Regions from separate parts of the Homo sapiens genome. Here region 1 is linked to region 2. The links are contacts of gene promoters, found by promoter capture Hi-C in human tissues and cell types (Jung and others, 2019). All regions are on one chromosome and are shown on one strand. Each heading gives the region's core, a stretch centred on a gene start or on the middle of the fragment in contact. The rest is flanking DNA. Distances are from core to core; before and after follow the strand shown.

Region 1 (5,631 bases), core at 443-2,942, 140 kb before region 2:
GCACTCCACCGTCCAGGTCCTGGCAGAACACGTGCTTTCTGCTTCTCATCCTCTGGATCCTTAGCAAAATCAGCACCGCCCTCCGCGGCTTCCAACTCACATCACTTGGTACCATCTCTTCACCTTTGCTTCCCATTTTACAGTCGGCTTCAACACTCCTTTCCTCGACTTCTCAACAGTCTGCCACTGTTCACTTTTCAGTTTTGACTTTTCCCACCTATAATTTTCCCTTGTAAGACAATTATTTCAATGCTTGTGGCATTTCATTTTATGTGAACTCCTCCAGGTTTGAGTGAGCTATTCAGGTCCTGCTTTTCTATTTGTCATCACTCCTTAGAAGGGAACCAATATGTGCTGAGCCCCCCTCATGGACCTGTTCACACAATCCCATTCATTCCTTCCCCGCCAAGGTATCATTCACCTTACCTGACAGATGAAGAGACTGAGGCTCAGAGAGGCTGGGTAACTCGCCCAGGATTCCAACCTCACGCTCTTCCCAGGCCCTGCTCCTCTCCTAGAGCTCAGGGACCACTTCTGACACTTTTCTTGTTTTGAGATGGAGTCTCTGTCACGCAGGCTGAAGTACAGTGGTGCGATCTAGGCTCGCTGCAACCTCCGCCTCCCGGGTTCAAGTGATTCTCCTGCCTTAGCCTCCCGAGTAGCTGGGACTACAGGTGCACGCCACCATGACCAGCTAATGTTTGTATTTTTAGTAGAGACGGGGTTTCACCAGGTTGGCCAGCCTGATCACAAACTCTTGACCTCAGGTGATCTGCCTGCCTCTGCCTGCCAAAGTGCTGGGATTACAGAAGTGAGTTCTGACCCATTTTTAATGCTGTCCCTCCAAGCCCTCCTCACCGCCTTCCATGACATCTGGGGCAACCACAGCCTAGACTGTCAAGGGGTACCCACCCATCTCGGAGCAAACAGAGCGCATCGCTTTCCTTCCTTGGGCCCTGACTGCACCCGCCCTCCCAACTTCAGCTCTGCTCCTGAATTCAGCTGGAAGTTGGCTCCTCCTGCTTATGAGATTCCTCACAGATTTGTTCTGGTTAATTTCATAAATCTTTCCTCTGACTGTCAGTCAGAGTCACCAACACTTACAGGAAACCGCCTGTGTTGGCTATGAGGGCTCAGAAGCACAGGGAGGTGAAATAACTGATAAACACATTTGCAGAGCAACAGGATGACAAGTGCAAATTCAAATAGCACAAACTGAGAAGCAAGGCGTCTGGGAAGCATCGAGAAAAGAAATGAATGAGAGGATTCACTGGGGAGGGAGGCTTCCCTAGGGGCAAGGGCTGGGCCTGGGGGCGACAGCAGGCAGGGCGCTGCAGGACAGAGAGGATGACGTCTGCAAGGGCACGATGCGAGATCACCTGTGACCTCACAGTTGCCAAGGCCGATGGCCTTTTCTTGGTTCTCATCCTCCTTGACTTCTCTGAAGGATGTGAGTCAGCCTGAAGTGACCCCTTCCTTCCCGAGTCCTGTCCCCGTGGCCTCAGTGACCCTGCCCTGGCCTGGTTCTCCTGCTATCTGCCTGCCCCTCTGCCCCCCGAGTGTGGGCATTCCCATGGGCCTGTCATCGGCGGCGCTCTGCTCCTAGTCCACTCCGTCCCACTGACTCTCATCACCTTGACAGAAGGCAGGATCTCCCTCCCAAGCTTTGTCTGTATATCCAAAAACCCGTGTGCGTTGCCACTAGAATGAAGGACCTTCCTCCAACCTCAGTCTGTCTACAGCCAAGCTCCGTCATGCCCTGGTCCTGAGTGGGCTGCCCCCATCACCCAAGCTTTCTGTTTGTGACGCCACCGTGTGTTTTCATCGTCCCCAGATTCAACGGGTCACCTCTGACTGCTCCTCCTCCTTCCTCCCATCTTCAGGCAGCCTCCCTTGCATTCCTCACATCCTTGGCTGAGTCTCAGCCCACCTCTGCTCGGCCCTCCCTGCTGACCCTGCCCCAGTTAGCTCAGCCTCACTGCTGGGTTTCTATCTCAGCCCCAAGCCCATCCTTCCACAGTGTGCAGGGGAGGGGCCTCTGCAGACACATTTCTCCCTTGCTAGGAGCTTCCTGTTAGGCTCTGCCAATGGGAGTTCTGGAAGAAGAAGGGAAGGCTGGAGTCGGGGGAGAGGACACTGCTCTTCCCGCCTGCTTCTCCTTTTTCTTAGTACTACCCTAGCAATGGCCTGCACCCCAGCAGCACTAACTGCTTCCTGTCTTGGGGTGTGTGTGTGTGTGTGTGTTTCCCTACTCCCAGACCAGCTTATTGTTGCCCCCAGAGGAAACAGCGCCAGCGGGCAGTGCCCTCTTCTCAGAGATCCACACCTTGGCTCCCAGGGCCCCTCCTCCCTGCTTCTGGGCTGAGAGCCCCACATGCTTCCCTCTGCTTCCCCAGCCCAAGAGGTGGTGCTCCTTCCTGCAGTTACTACCCGTGCTGCCTCAGTTTCCCCCTTTTCCTCTTCCAGTCCTCTAGCACCAGTGTCATTCACATCCTACTGAAATCCTCACTGTTGAAATGCCGAGTAGAGTTGCTGGTTTTTGCCTGGCCCCTGACTTATGTAGTCCTTGGTACCAGGAGTGGTCTTAAAACATGGACCCTCCAGGATGGTTTGGAACTGGTTTGGTGTGTCTTGCCCTGAACACAGGGCTGGGCTCCTCCCAGTGGGAAATGGGTCCTGGTGCTCTGTGGCATGTGCTGGGGTCACGCGGCAGGTGACTGAACTCCTGAGGTGCCGGGACCAGCCGGGCAGGGCCCCTTCCTCAGGGGTCCGGATCCCAGCTCCCTGGGTCTCTTCAAGCTTCTGACAACCCCGACCTCTGCCCGCCAATCTGTGTCAACTCAATGCTGCCTTCTTGCTTCCTCAGTTCTCCAACACTTGATGAAGCAATTCCATACATTAAAATTTCTCTGCTGAAATGACGACTGCGTTTTCTGTCTTCCCGACTGTGCCTTGAACACTTCTTTTCTCTTCTTTTTTCTCCCGGCTGTTATCCACCCAGTGGGTGGCATCAACAGGTGGACCCCCATGACACAGTGCCTCCATCTTGGCAAACCTTCACACAAACCCCACTGAGGATTCCTTCATAGCCTACCCATCTCCACGGTCAGCCCTAACCCACCTTCCCACTCTCTCCCTAGTAATCCCTTACCCCAAATCTGGGCTCTGCATTCCTGTTCGCCCAGTCCCTGGAAATTCCTCAAGGCCACCTCCTTCCAGGTACCCCTAGACCAAATTCAAATCCTGTCCATTCTCTGCAAGGAAAGCTCAAAGAATACCCTTCCTGCACAGCCTCTGAAGGCCATCTCTCCCTCCTTCATCTTTATCTGTGTGGCTAACGTGGATCGTTGCTCAGTGGTAGCGCACGATGTGATGTCAGAGCAACCCTCCCAGGAGGCTCTATTACCATCTCCATGTATATCAAGAGGCAGCATATTATGGTACTTAAGGGCACAGACTCTGGAGCCAGACTCCAGCTCCATCACTTTCTAGCTGTGTGAGTTTAAATCAGTTACTTAACCTCTCTGTGCCTCAGCTGCAACATGTATAACCTAAGATAATCATAGCACCTACCCCACAGAATTGTTATGAGGATTTAATGAGTTAATATGCACAGTGCCTGGCATATATAAGTACTATTTAAGTGTTTTTTTAAAAGTAAACAAAATACAGATCAATGTCAAATGTTGTTTTCTTTCTTCTCCAGAACCAGAACAAGTAGCAGCTGTGCCTGGAGGCATTTCCCCGCATCTGGCACACAAAGGGCATTCACTTTGTGTTCGCTGTGTTAGAACGTATCACACGCATCTTAGTTCTTCCTTGAGTGCAACTGACTCATGCTTGCAGGCCCACTGCACCTTGCACGGTGACTCTGACGTAGTAGGTGCTCAGCGAGTATCTGTTCAATGCATAAACACTTGAACTGAACGTCAGGTCCTTCAATGACCAGTTATGTGAGAGAAAAAACAGAGTAACTCAGTTTAAACAGTAGGGCTGTGGGTCATGGATGGAAAAATAAAACCAATGGCATGTGTGTGGTGGGGGTGGGTGGACAGGTGTCAGAGGGGGCTGATTTCTGGGCTGAGGTCTTTTGGTCCCTGGAAACTTCCAAGAGGAAATGCTGTGGAATCCCTGAAAAGAGGCTGCAGATTGAGGCGCAGGCTGGAGTTCAGGAGCCACTAACTAGGCAGTGGCTGCACTCAGGTGAAAGAACTACCCAAGGGAGTTGGGGGTAAAGAAGGGCACAAAGAGGCCGGGCATAGTGGGTGGCTCACGCCTGTAATCCCAGCACTTTGGGAGGCTGAGGCAGGTGGATCACTTGAGGTCTGGAGTTCAAGACCAGCCTGACCAACTGGTGAAACCCCATCTCTACTAAAAATACAAAAATTAACTGGGCATGGTGGTGTGTGCCTGTATCCCCGGCTGCTCGGGAGGCTGAGGCAGGGAATCATTTAAACCCAGGAGGTGGAAGTTGCAGTGAGCTAAGGTTGTGCACCACTGCACTCCAGCCTGGGAGACAGAGTGAAATTACGCCTCAAAAAAAAAGGTCCGGGCACAGTGACTCACGCCTGTAATCCCAGCACTTTGGGAGGCCGAGGCGGGCAGATCACCTGACGTCAGGAGTTCAAGACCAGCCTGGCTAACATGGTGAAACCCAGTCTCCACTAAAAAATACAAAAAATTAGCTGGGTATGGTGGTGGGCGCCTGTAATCCCAGCTACTTGGGAGGCTGAGGCAGAAGAATCGCTTGAACCCAGGAGGTGGAGGTTGCAGTGAGCTGAGATTGTGCCATTGCACTCCAGCTTAGGCAATGAGAGTGAAACTCCGTCTCAAAAAAAAAAAAAAAAAAAATAGAAGGACACAGAGGAGCACTACTTGAGGACAGAGTAGCTTGGGCTAAAGCCCTGGAAATCAGATTGGGACCCAGGGTCTGGATCATACAGCTCTGCCACTTCCAGCTCTGTGACCCATGGCAAATGTTCTCATTTTTCTGGGCCTCAGTTGCCTCATCTGTAAATGAGGATGGCAATAATGCCAATCCCACAGGGTTGCTATGAGGATTCAATGAGACCACCTGTATTGAGGGTCTAGCAGAGCTGATGCACCCAAAGCGCCAGTAAGTTAGCTCCATGATGAAAACCGAATTTAAAAAGAACCCAGAGAGAAGCCCATTTAAAAAAAAAAGTAACTTCAGAAAATAATGTTCCCACCTTATCCATAAGGAAATTAAAGCTCAAAAAGTGCTTCGTCCAAGATGACACAGCCAATAAGAGGAACAGGCAAAATTACTTTTGTTACACAACACTGCCTCCTCTGGTGCTCTGGAAACTGGAGATTCTCCTGAGAACCATTAATTTATTTTGCTCCAGTATGATTCAGTTACTACTGTCAGTCATCTTTCTGTGTGACCCTTTTATTTTCAAATTATAAAAGCCATTAAAAATATTATCATTTATTCTCAGTCTGGAAGAGGGGAATTTTTTAAAACAGGAATCTCTTTTTCTCTATATAATTTCTCACCACTTCTTTCCTGAGCTGGCCAGGGAAGCCTGGAAAGGTCACAGGTTTCAACAGAAACACGAGTTAAGAGTTTTGGAGTTGGCCAGATCTAGGGGCTGAAATCCTGCATAG
Region 2 (5,814 bases), core at 1,347-3,846:
CCATTTGGCAATGATCATCATGATAATGTTTAATTAAATTAAGGAACATCATTGCATACTGAAATTATACAAGTGTGGGAGTGGGATGAGAAAGCTTAAAAGTATCTCCCTACCAAATGCTTATAAATTACGATGTGGAAGGGGAAGTAACTTTACAATAGAGAAACTTGATTGGTGTCAAGTTAATCAAATGATCAGAGCGAACGACATTAGTGATGGGACAGATTGACAATGAAAGCTAATAGGACTCACCAAGAATAATCCAGCATCACTTCTGTGCTATTTTGGCCAAAAAAGCATAACCCAGTTCTAATCATCAGACAGAGCCAAATCGAGGGACATTATTCAAAACAACCAACCTGCAGTCTTCGAGATGTCGAGGAAAAAACAAGGCATCTGTTTCAAACTGGAGGCCCGAAAGACATGGCAACTAAGAGCCATGCATTTAGAGAGAATGCAAAGTCCCGGATGGATTTTCTTGTTACAAAACCATTATTGAGAAGCTTAGCGAAACTCAAAGGGGGTTTCCACATGAAGGGTATGTGAGAGTTCTTTGTATCATTCCTTTAACGCTCTGTATTTTGAAATAGTTTCAGAATAAAAATGGAAATGGAAAAAAATGCAATGTTAACATATACGAGTTACTACTTTCAACAAGTTATCTTCCTTTTCATGCCTCAATTTCTTCATCTGTAAGGTGAAGACAGTAACAGCTACATAAAGGTTATTGGGAAGAGATGGAGAAGCCCCCAGCCGAAGGTCTGCTCACAGCGTAAATGCTCAAGCCCTGGTCATTATGAGTACTACGTTCTTGCCAACATTTTCTTGGGTTTCTTAGTCTCTAAAAGATCGTCAATTGCAAGACACGGTATTTTACATACCACTGAAGGAAAAAACAAACAAACAAACGAAAACATTCAATGAATTCCTGACGGTGTGATTCTTCTCGCTTAGAACTTTTAATACTTATTGAGAGAACTCTGTTAGACTCATTCAAATGTAGATTTTTATCCCCTGCTGCTCTATGATGACTTTTAAAAGGAAAGGGTCAGTCAAGTGAATTGGCTGAGGTGTTCCTAAAGCTCCTTCACATTTTGGGTCTGGTGTCCGGAGTGATTTTGACTCAGAGTCTCGGGTTCTTCGTTTCTCCACCAGACAGCATCCTCTGTGCTCCTGAGGGCATCCAGGCCCGCAGCCTCCCAGTCCCACAGAGGACCTCAGCAAAGACAGGCAGAGTGGGGACACCTGGGAGAAAAGAGAGCCCGGGACGTCACTTTAATTCCATCCTCTCCAGCCCTGGAGAAGCCCCTGCAGGGTTTTTCCATGCCAGGCAGGGACCTCACACTGACCGGAGTGCCTGAGAGAACCACACATGCCTTCCTCTACCCTGGGCTTTCTCTGCTAGGGTGAGGCCCTGCCAGCTCTTCCTGGCCAACCCTGCCCTTCCTGGTAGGAGGAAAGCAAAGAACAACAATCAGGCCAGAATTCCAGTGGCTTCGAGGCAGGTTCCTGCCCCTCCATTTCCTCCATTCCCCTCATTCTTGCCCTCCATTCCCCTCATTCCTGCCTGCTGCCCTTTCTCCTGGGAGGCAGCCCCATGTAGGAGAAATATGACTGCGTTTTGTTGTGTCTTGGCACTGTGATTCATCTTGTCTTTATTCAAACTTTTCATATTTGGTTCACCGTGAATAGTTTCTGCATCAGTTGGGATTTTTTTAAACCATATTGCATTAAAATATTACTTACAACAATTACTGAATTTTTAAATGCCTGTTTAAATTTTGAGCACGAGAGACTGCCTCACTCACCTGACCTTAATTCTGCTGGCCCTGCTGTGCTCAGGGAGCCACTCATTCATTCATTCATTCATTCATTCATTCATTCATTCATCTATTCATTTGCACACAGTCAAAGGTGCAATTTCTCCTCTGTACCAGGCCATGTGCTAGGTATTTGGGAGGGAAGTGCAAGCCGGACACAAGCCAGCACTGAAGATAGTGTCAGAAGAAAGACAGCCATGAACACACATGACCATATGACACATGGTGGGGTGGGGCGGCAGGGCAAAGAGGACATCGGGGAAATCAACATGCCACCAGCTACCACTTGTAGGGGGTTCTCCTGTGGCCAGCTCTGAGCTAAGGTCTTCCTGCACAGAATCTCACTGGATTCCCTCAACAGTCCTTCCAGGTTTGTAGATGCTTCTGCAAAAGTAACAGACAGATGGATGTCCCGAGGCTTGGGGAAGTAACACGCAGATGATTTGCACAAGGACACGCTTTAAGAAGCAGTGGACTTGGAAGTCCAACACAGATCTGTCTGGCTCTGGGCTCAAACCAGCTATGGTTATTGCAGCCACTTCCACCTGCATCCCCATCAAGCAGTCAGGGAAGGCTGCATGGAGGAGGCCCTGCGTCAGCTGAGGCTTGAAGGAGGCCTAGGAGTTTATAGGAAGGTAAATTGGAGTAGGAGGCTTTCTGGAAGTAAGAAAAGTCACGTGCACTATTAGCAAAGTAGGCCTGGGCCGGCACTGCTTCCTCTTTCTGCTTCTCTGTTTCCTGATGACATCAACATAAATAGGAAACGTGGGAGGCTCACTCTGCCTAGAGGCTCCAGAAGAAGACTGGTCTCTCCCACCACACAGAGGTATGGCCCGGCGTCCAGGAGCAGGGCTGAGGGGTGGGGTCAGAGCAGGGGGGAATGTGGGGAGTCCAGGATGAAAAAGGACAGGGGGAGCCTGGGGGGCGTCCTGTGGGTAGCTGTGCCCTGGGGACTTGGAGGAGTTAGGGCTTGGCCTCTTAGGATGACCTGAGCCCAGACTCCTAGGGCGGCCAGTGGATGGGGAGGCAGCCAGGGGTGCCAAGCTGCTTGGGTGTTGTAGGAGAGCTCTGGGGAGGACTCAGCCTCGCTAGCGGGATCTGGTTGGTCCTGGTGGGAAGGACGCCTAGTGGGGTGAAGAGAGCTCAGGCCTGGGAGTCAGGCACCTATAGTCTGTCTTCGCTTTGTCACTAAGATGCTGGTGGTAGTGAGAGCACCCCCTGTCCACCCTGGGCTTCTGTCTCCTCATCTGTGGAATGGGGAGCATGGATAGTCCCTGACATCTTGGTTTAGAAAGAGAGAGAACGCATGCTCGTGTGTTTGCCCGTGTGTGCATTTGTGTGTGTGCCTGTGTGTGTATGTGCATGTGCGGATGTCTGGGGATGCAGGAGTGCAGAGAGACTAAGAGGCAGAGGGTGAAACCTGGAAGCTTGCTGCGCTGAGGCCCAGAGCTGGGTGCGGTGTGGCTTGAGAAGCTCACTTTGAACTTGAGAAAGAGCCCAGCACTTTGCCCAGAGACATACCAGGCACTATCCAGCAATCTCTCTCTCTCTCTCTCTCTCTCTCAGTCTCTCTCTCTGTCTGTCTGTCTTTTTAGTTATGACACTCTGCCCTGCTGATTTGGGTTGCTGATTTGGGTTGGGGCCCAGGTGTGTGTGTTCTGTACCCAAGTATGCTGGCTGGGTGGGTGGGTATCTGGGGTGCCTGCTTCAGGGTGTGTGCAGGTGTGTGTACTGGCCCTGAGAATGAAAGGGCAGGTGTTTCACTGGGACCTTGTCAGACAGGTGCTAGCGACAAGCTGCATATGTGCAATTTTTAGTCTTCAAAAACCCTGCTGTTATATTTTTGTACAGCCCAATTCTAATTTTTTTCTATCATCTTTCCTGCTTTGTAATCATTTTATAATGAGTAAACATTTCCTATTAGCTTTTGGTCACTCTTTTTTTCATCCAGCAGTTTTATTTATATTGTTCCAGTATACAGATATACCAACACCACAGGATAATTCATGAGTTGTATAAGGAATGTATTTAATGCTAAACAAGCAACTACACAGAAACCTACCTTCATGAAAATTAGAATAATCTAGAATTATGTAGCACAAGAGACAAAGTCCCCAGCAATTTCTTTTCCCTAGTTCCATAGCTTATTCTTTTCACCACATGTATTCTTCCAGAACATTTTCTAAGCATGATACAAGCATATAGTTTTTCTTTTCCTGTTTGTTTTTTGTTTTGTTTTGTTTTGTTTTTGTGACAGAGTTTTACTCTTGTCGCCCAGGCTGGAATGCAGTGGTGCAATCTTGGCTCACTGCAACCTCTGCCTCCCGGGTTCAGGTGATTCTCCTGCCTCAGCCTCCTGAGTAGCCGGGATTACAGGCATGAGCCACCACACGTGGCTAATTTTTGTATTTTTAGTAGAGACAGGGTTTCACCATATTGGCCAGGCTGGTCTCGAACTCCTGACCTCAGATGATCCGCCTGTCTCAGCCTCCCAAAATGCTGGGATTACAGGCTTGAGCCACTGTGCCAGGATGGTAGTTTTTCTTTTTACAGAAATGGGATTATTTTATTTATATATATATATATATATTCCTAATTTTTTCACTTAATATTGTATTTTGGAATATTTCCAAATTTCTACAATAATACATACAGATTTAACTCGTTAAGTAACCCTAAGAAATATGTGGCATTTATTAGGATGGGTACACCACAATTCATCTAATCTCACGTTGATCGACACCTAGATTGTTTCTAATTTTTCCACATCTGTGAAAGTGTTTCTGTAGCCTAAATTACTAAATGCAGAATTGCTGTGCAGAGGTTGTGCGTTAGAAATTATAATAGGTATTGTCAAATCAGCCTCAAAGTAGCTGAGCTAAGCTGACGTCCCCAAGGTAGTGCATAAAGGGTCCAATTTACCTTTAGAGAAATTATCAATCTTCTAATTTTGTCCAATATTATGTATGGAAATTCTCAATGTCGCGTGATTTTTTTCTTTCCCTGATTATGGGTGAAGTTGTACATTTTCTATATGTGGATTGGCCTTTTGGATTTCATTTATGATGAATGTGGAGAAATTTTTGTTCATCTCCTGTTGAATTCTCTTTTACATCTTAACTTTTGGAGTGACTCATTTATTACGTGTATTAATAATCCATTTATATATGTTGAAAATATATTCTCCCAGGTTATGACTTATCTTTTTCTTTACCATGTTTAAGATGTCTTATGTCATATAAAAATGTTTTCATTGTTAAGTCAAACCTGTCATTACTTTTTACTTTATGGTTTCTGATTTTGGTGTCTTGTAAACCTCTAAGATCACAGGTGTCTTGTAAACCTCTTTTTACTTTATGGTTTCTGGTTTGGTGTCTTGAAACCTCTAAGATTACAGAAAGAGTTTTAATAATTTTACTATTTTGGTTTTGACTTTGAGATTTTTAGCCCACCTAGAATTTAGAGAAGTGAGTAATGTGTAAAGTAACTTTTAAAAATAATTACCATCTAATTGTCTTAACATTGCTAATTATGAGTGTGTGATTTCTCCTCTCTTCAATGATTTGAAGTGCCCCTATTACATCCTAGGCTTCTATACATACTTCGTTATTTTCTTTATTGTTTTCTCTTCCATTTGGCTGTCACTACATTCCTTATTATTTTTCTAACGAATGGAGCAAGTCTCTCATCTCTGGTTTGTTATAATTTAGAATCAGTTTGCCAAGGCCAGGCACAGTGGCTCATGCCTATAATCCCAGCACTTTGGGAGGCTGAGGCAGGCAGATCCCTTGAAGTTGGACGTTCAAGACCAGCCTGGCCAACACGGTGAAACCCCATGTCTACTAAAAATACGAAAAATTAGCCGGGTTTGGTGGTGTGCACCTGTAATCCCAGCTACTTGGGATGCTGAAGTGGGAGAACTGCTTGAACCCAGGAGGCAAAGTTTGCAGTGAGCCGAGATCACGCCACTGCACTCCAGCCTGGGCAACAGAGT

What was found. The method cuts DNA at HindIII sites, captures the fragments that hold promoters and counts their contacts. A contact is called where the count stands out against the background at its distance.
Region 1: a fragment that was not itself captured here is called in contact with the fragment with the promoter of CSF2RB in region 2 in 1 of the 25 tissues and cell types used here (bladder).

What each region holds. Positions count from the first base shown.
Region 1 is chr22:36,768,824-36,774,454 of GRCh38, forward strand. The region is part of intron 1 of IFT27 (intraflagellar transport 27); the gene reads right to left. Among named protein-coding and RNA genes, the nearest start is that of IFT27, 4.5 kb to the right of the region's middle. The HindIII fragment of the contact is 5,942 bases long and covers 1-4,663 here.
Region 2 is chr22:36,911,032-36,916,845 of GRCh38, forward strand. CSF2RB (colony stimulating factor 2 receptor subunit beta) reads left to right here and starts at 2,597. Exons shown (of 14, transcript NM_000395.3): 1 at 2,597-2,646. RefSeq lists an enhancer at 430-1,131. The HindIII fragment of the contact is 4,511 bases long and covers 299-4,809 here.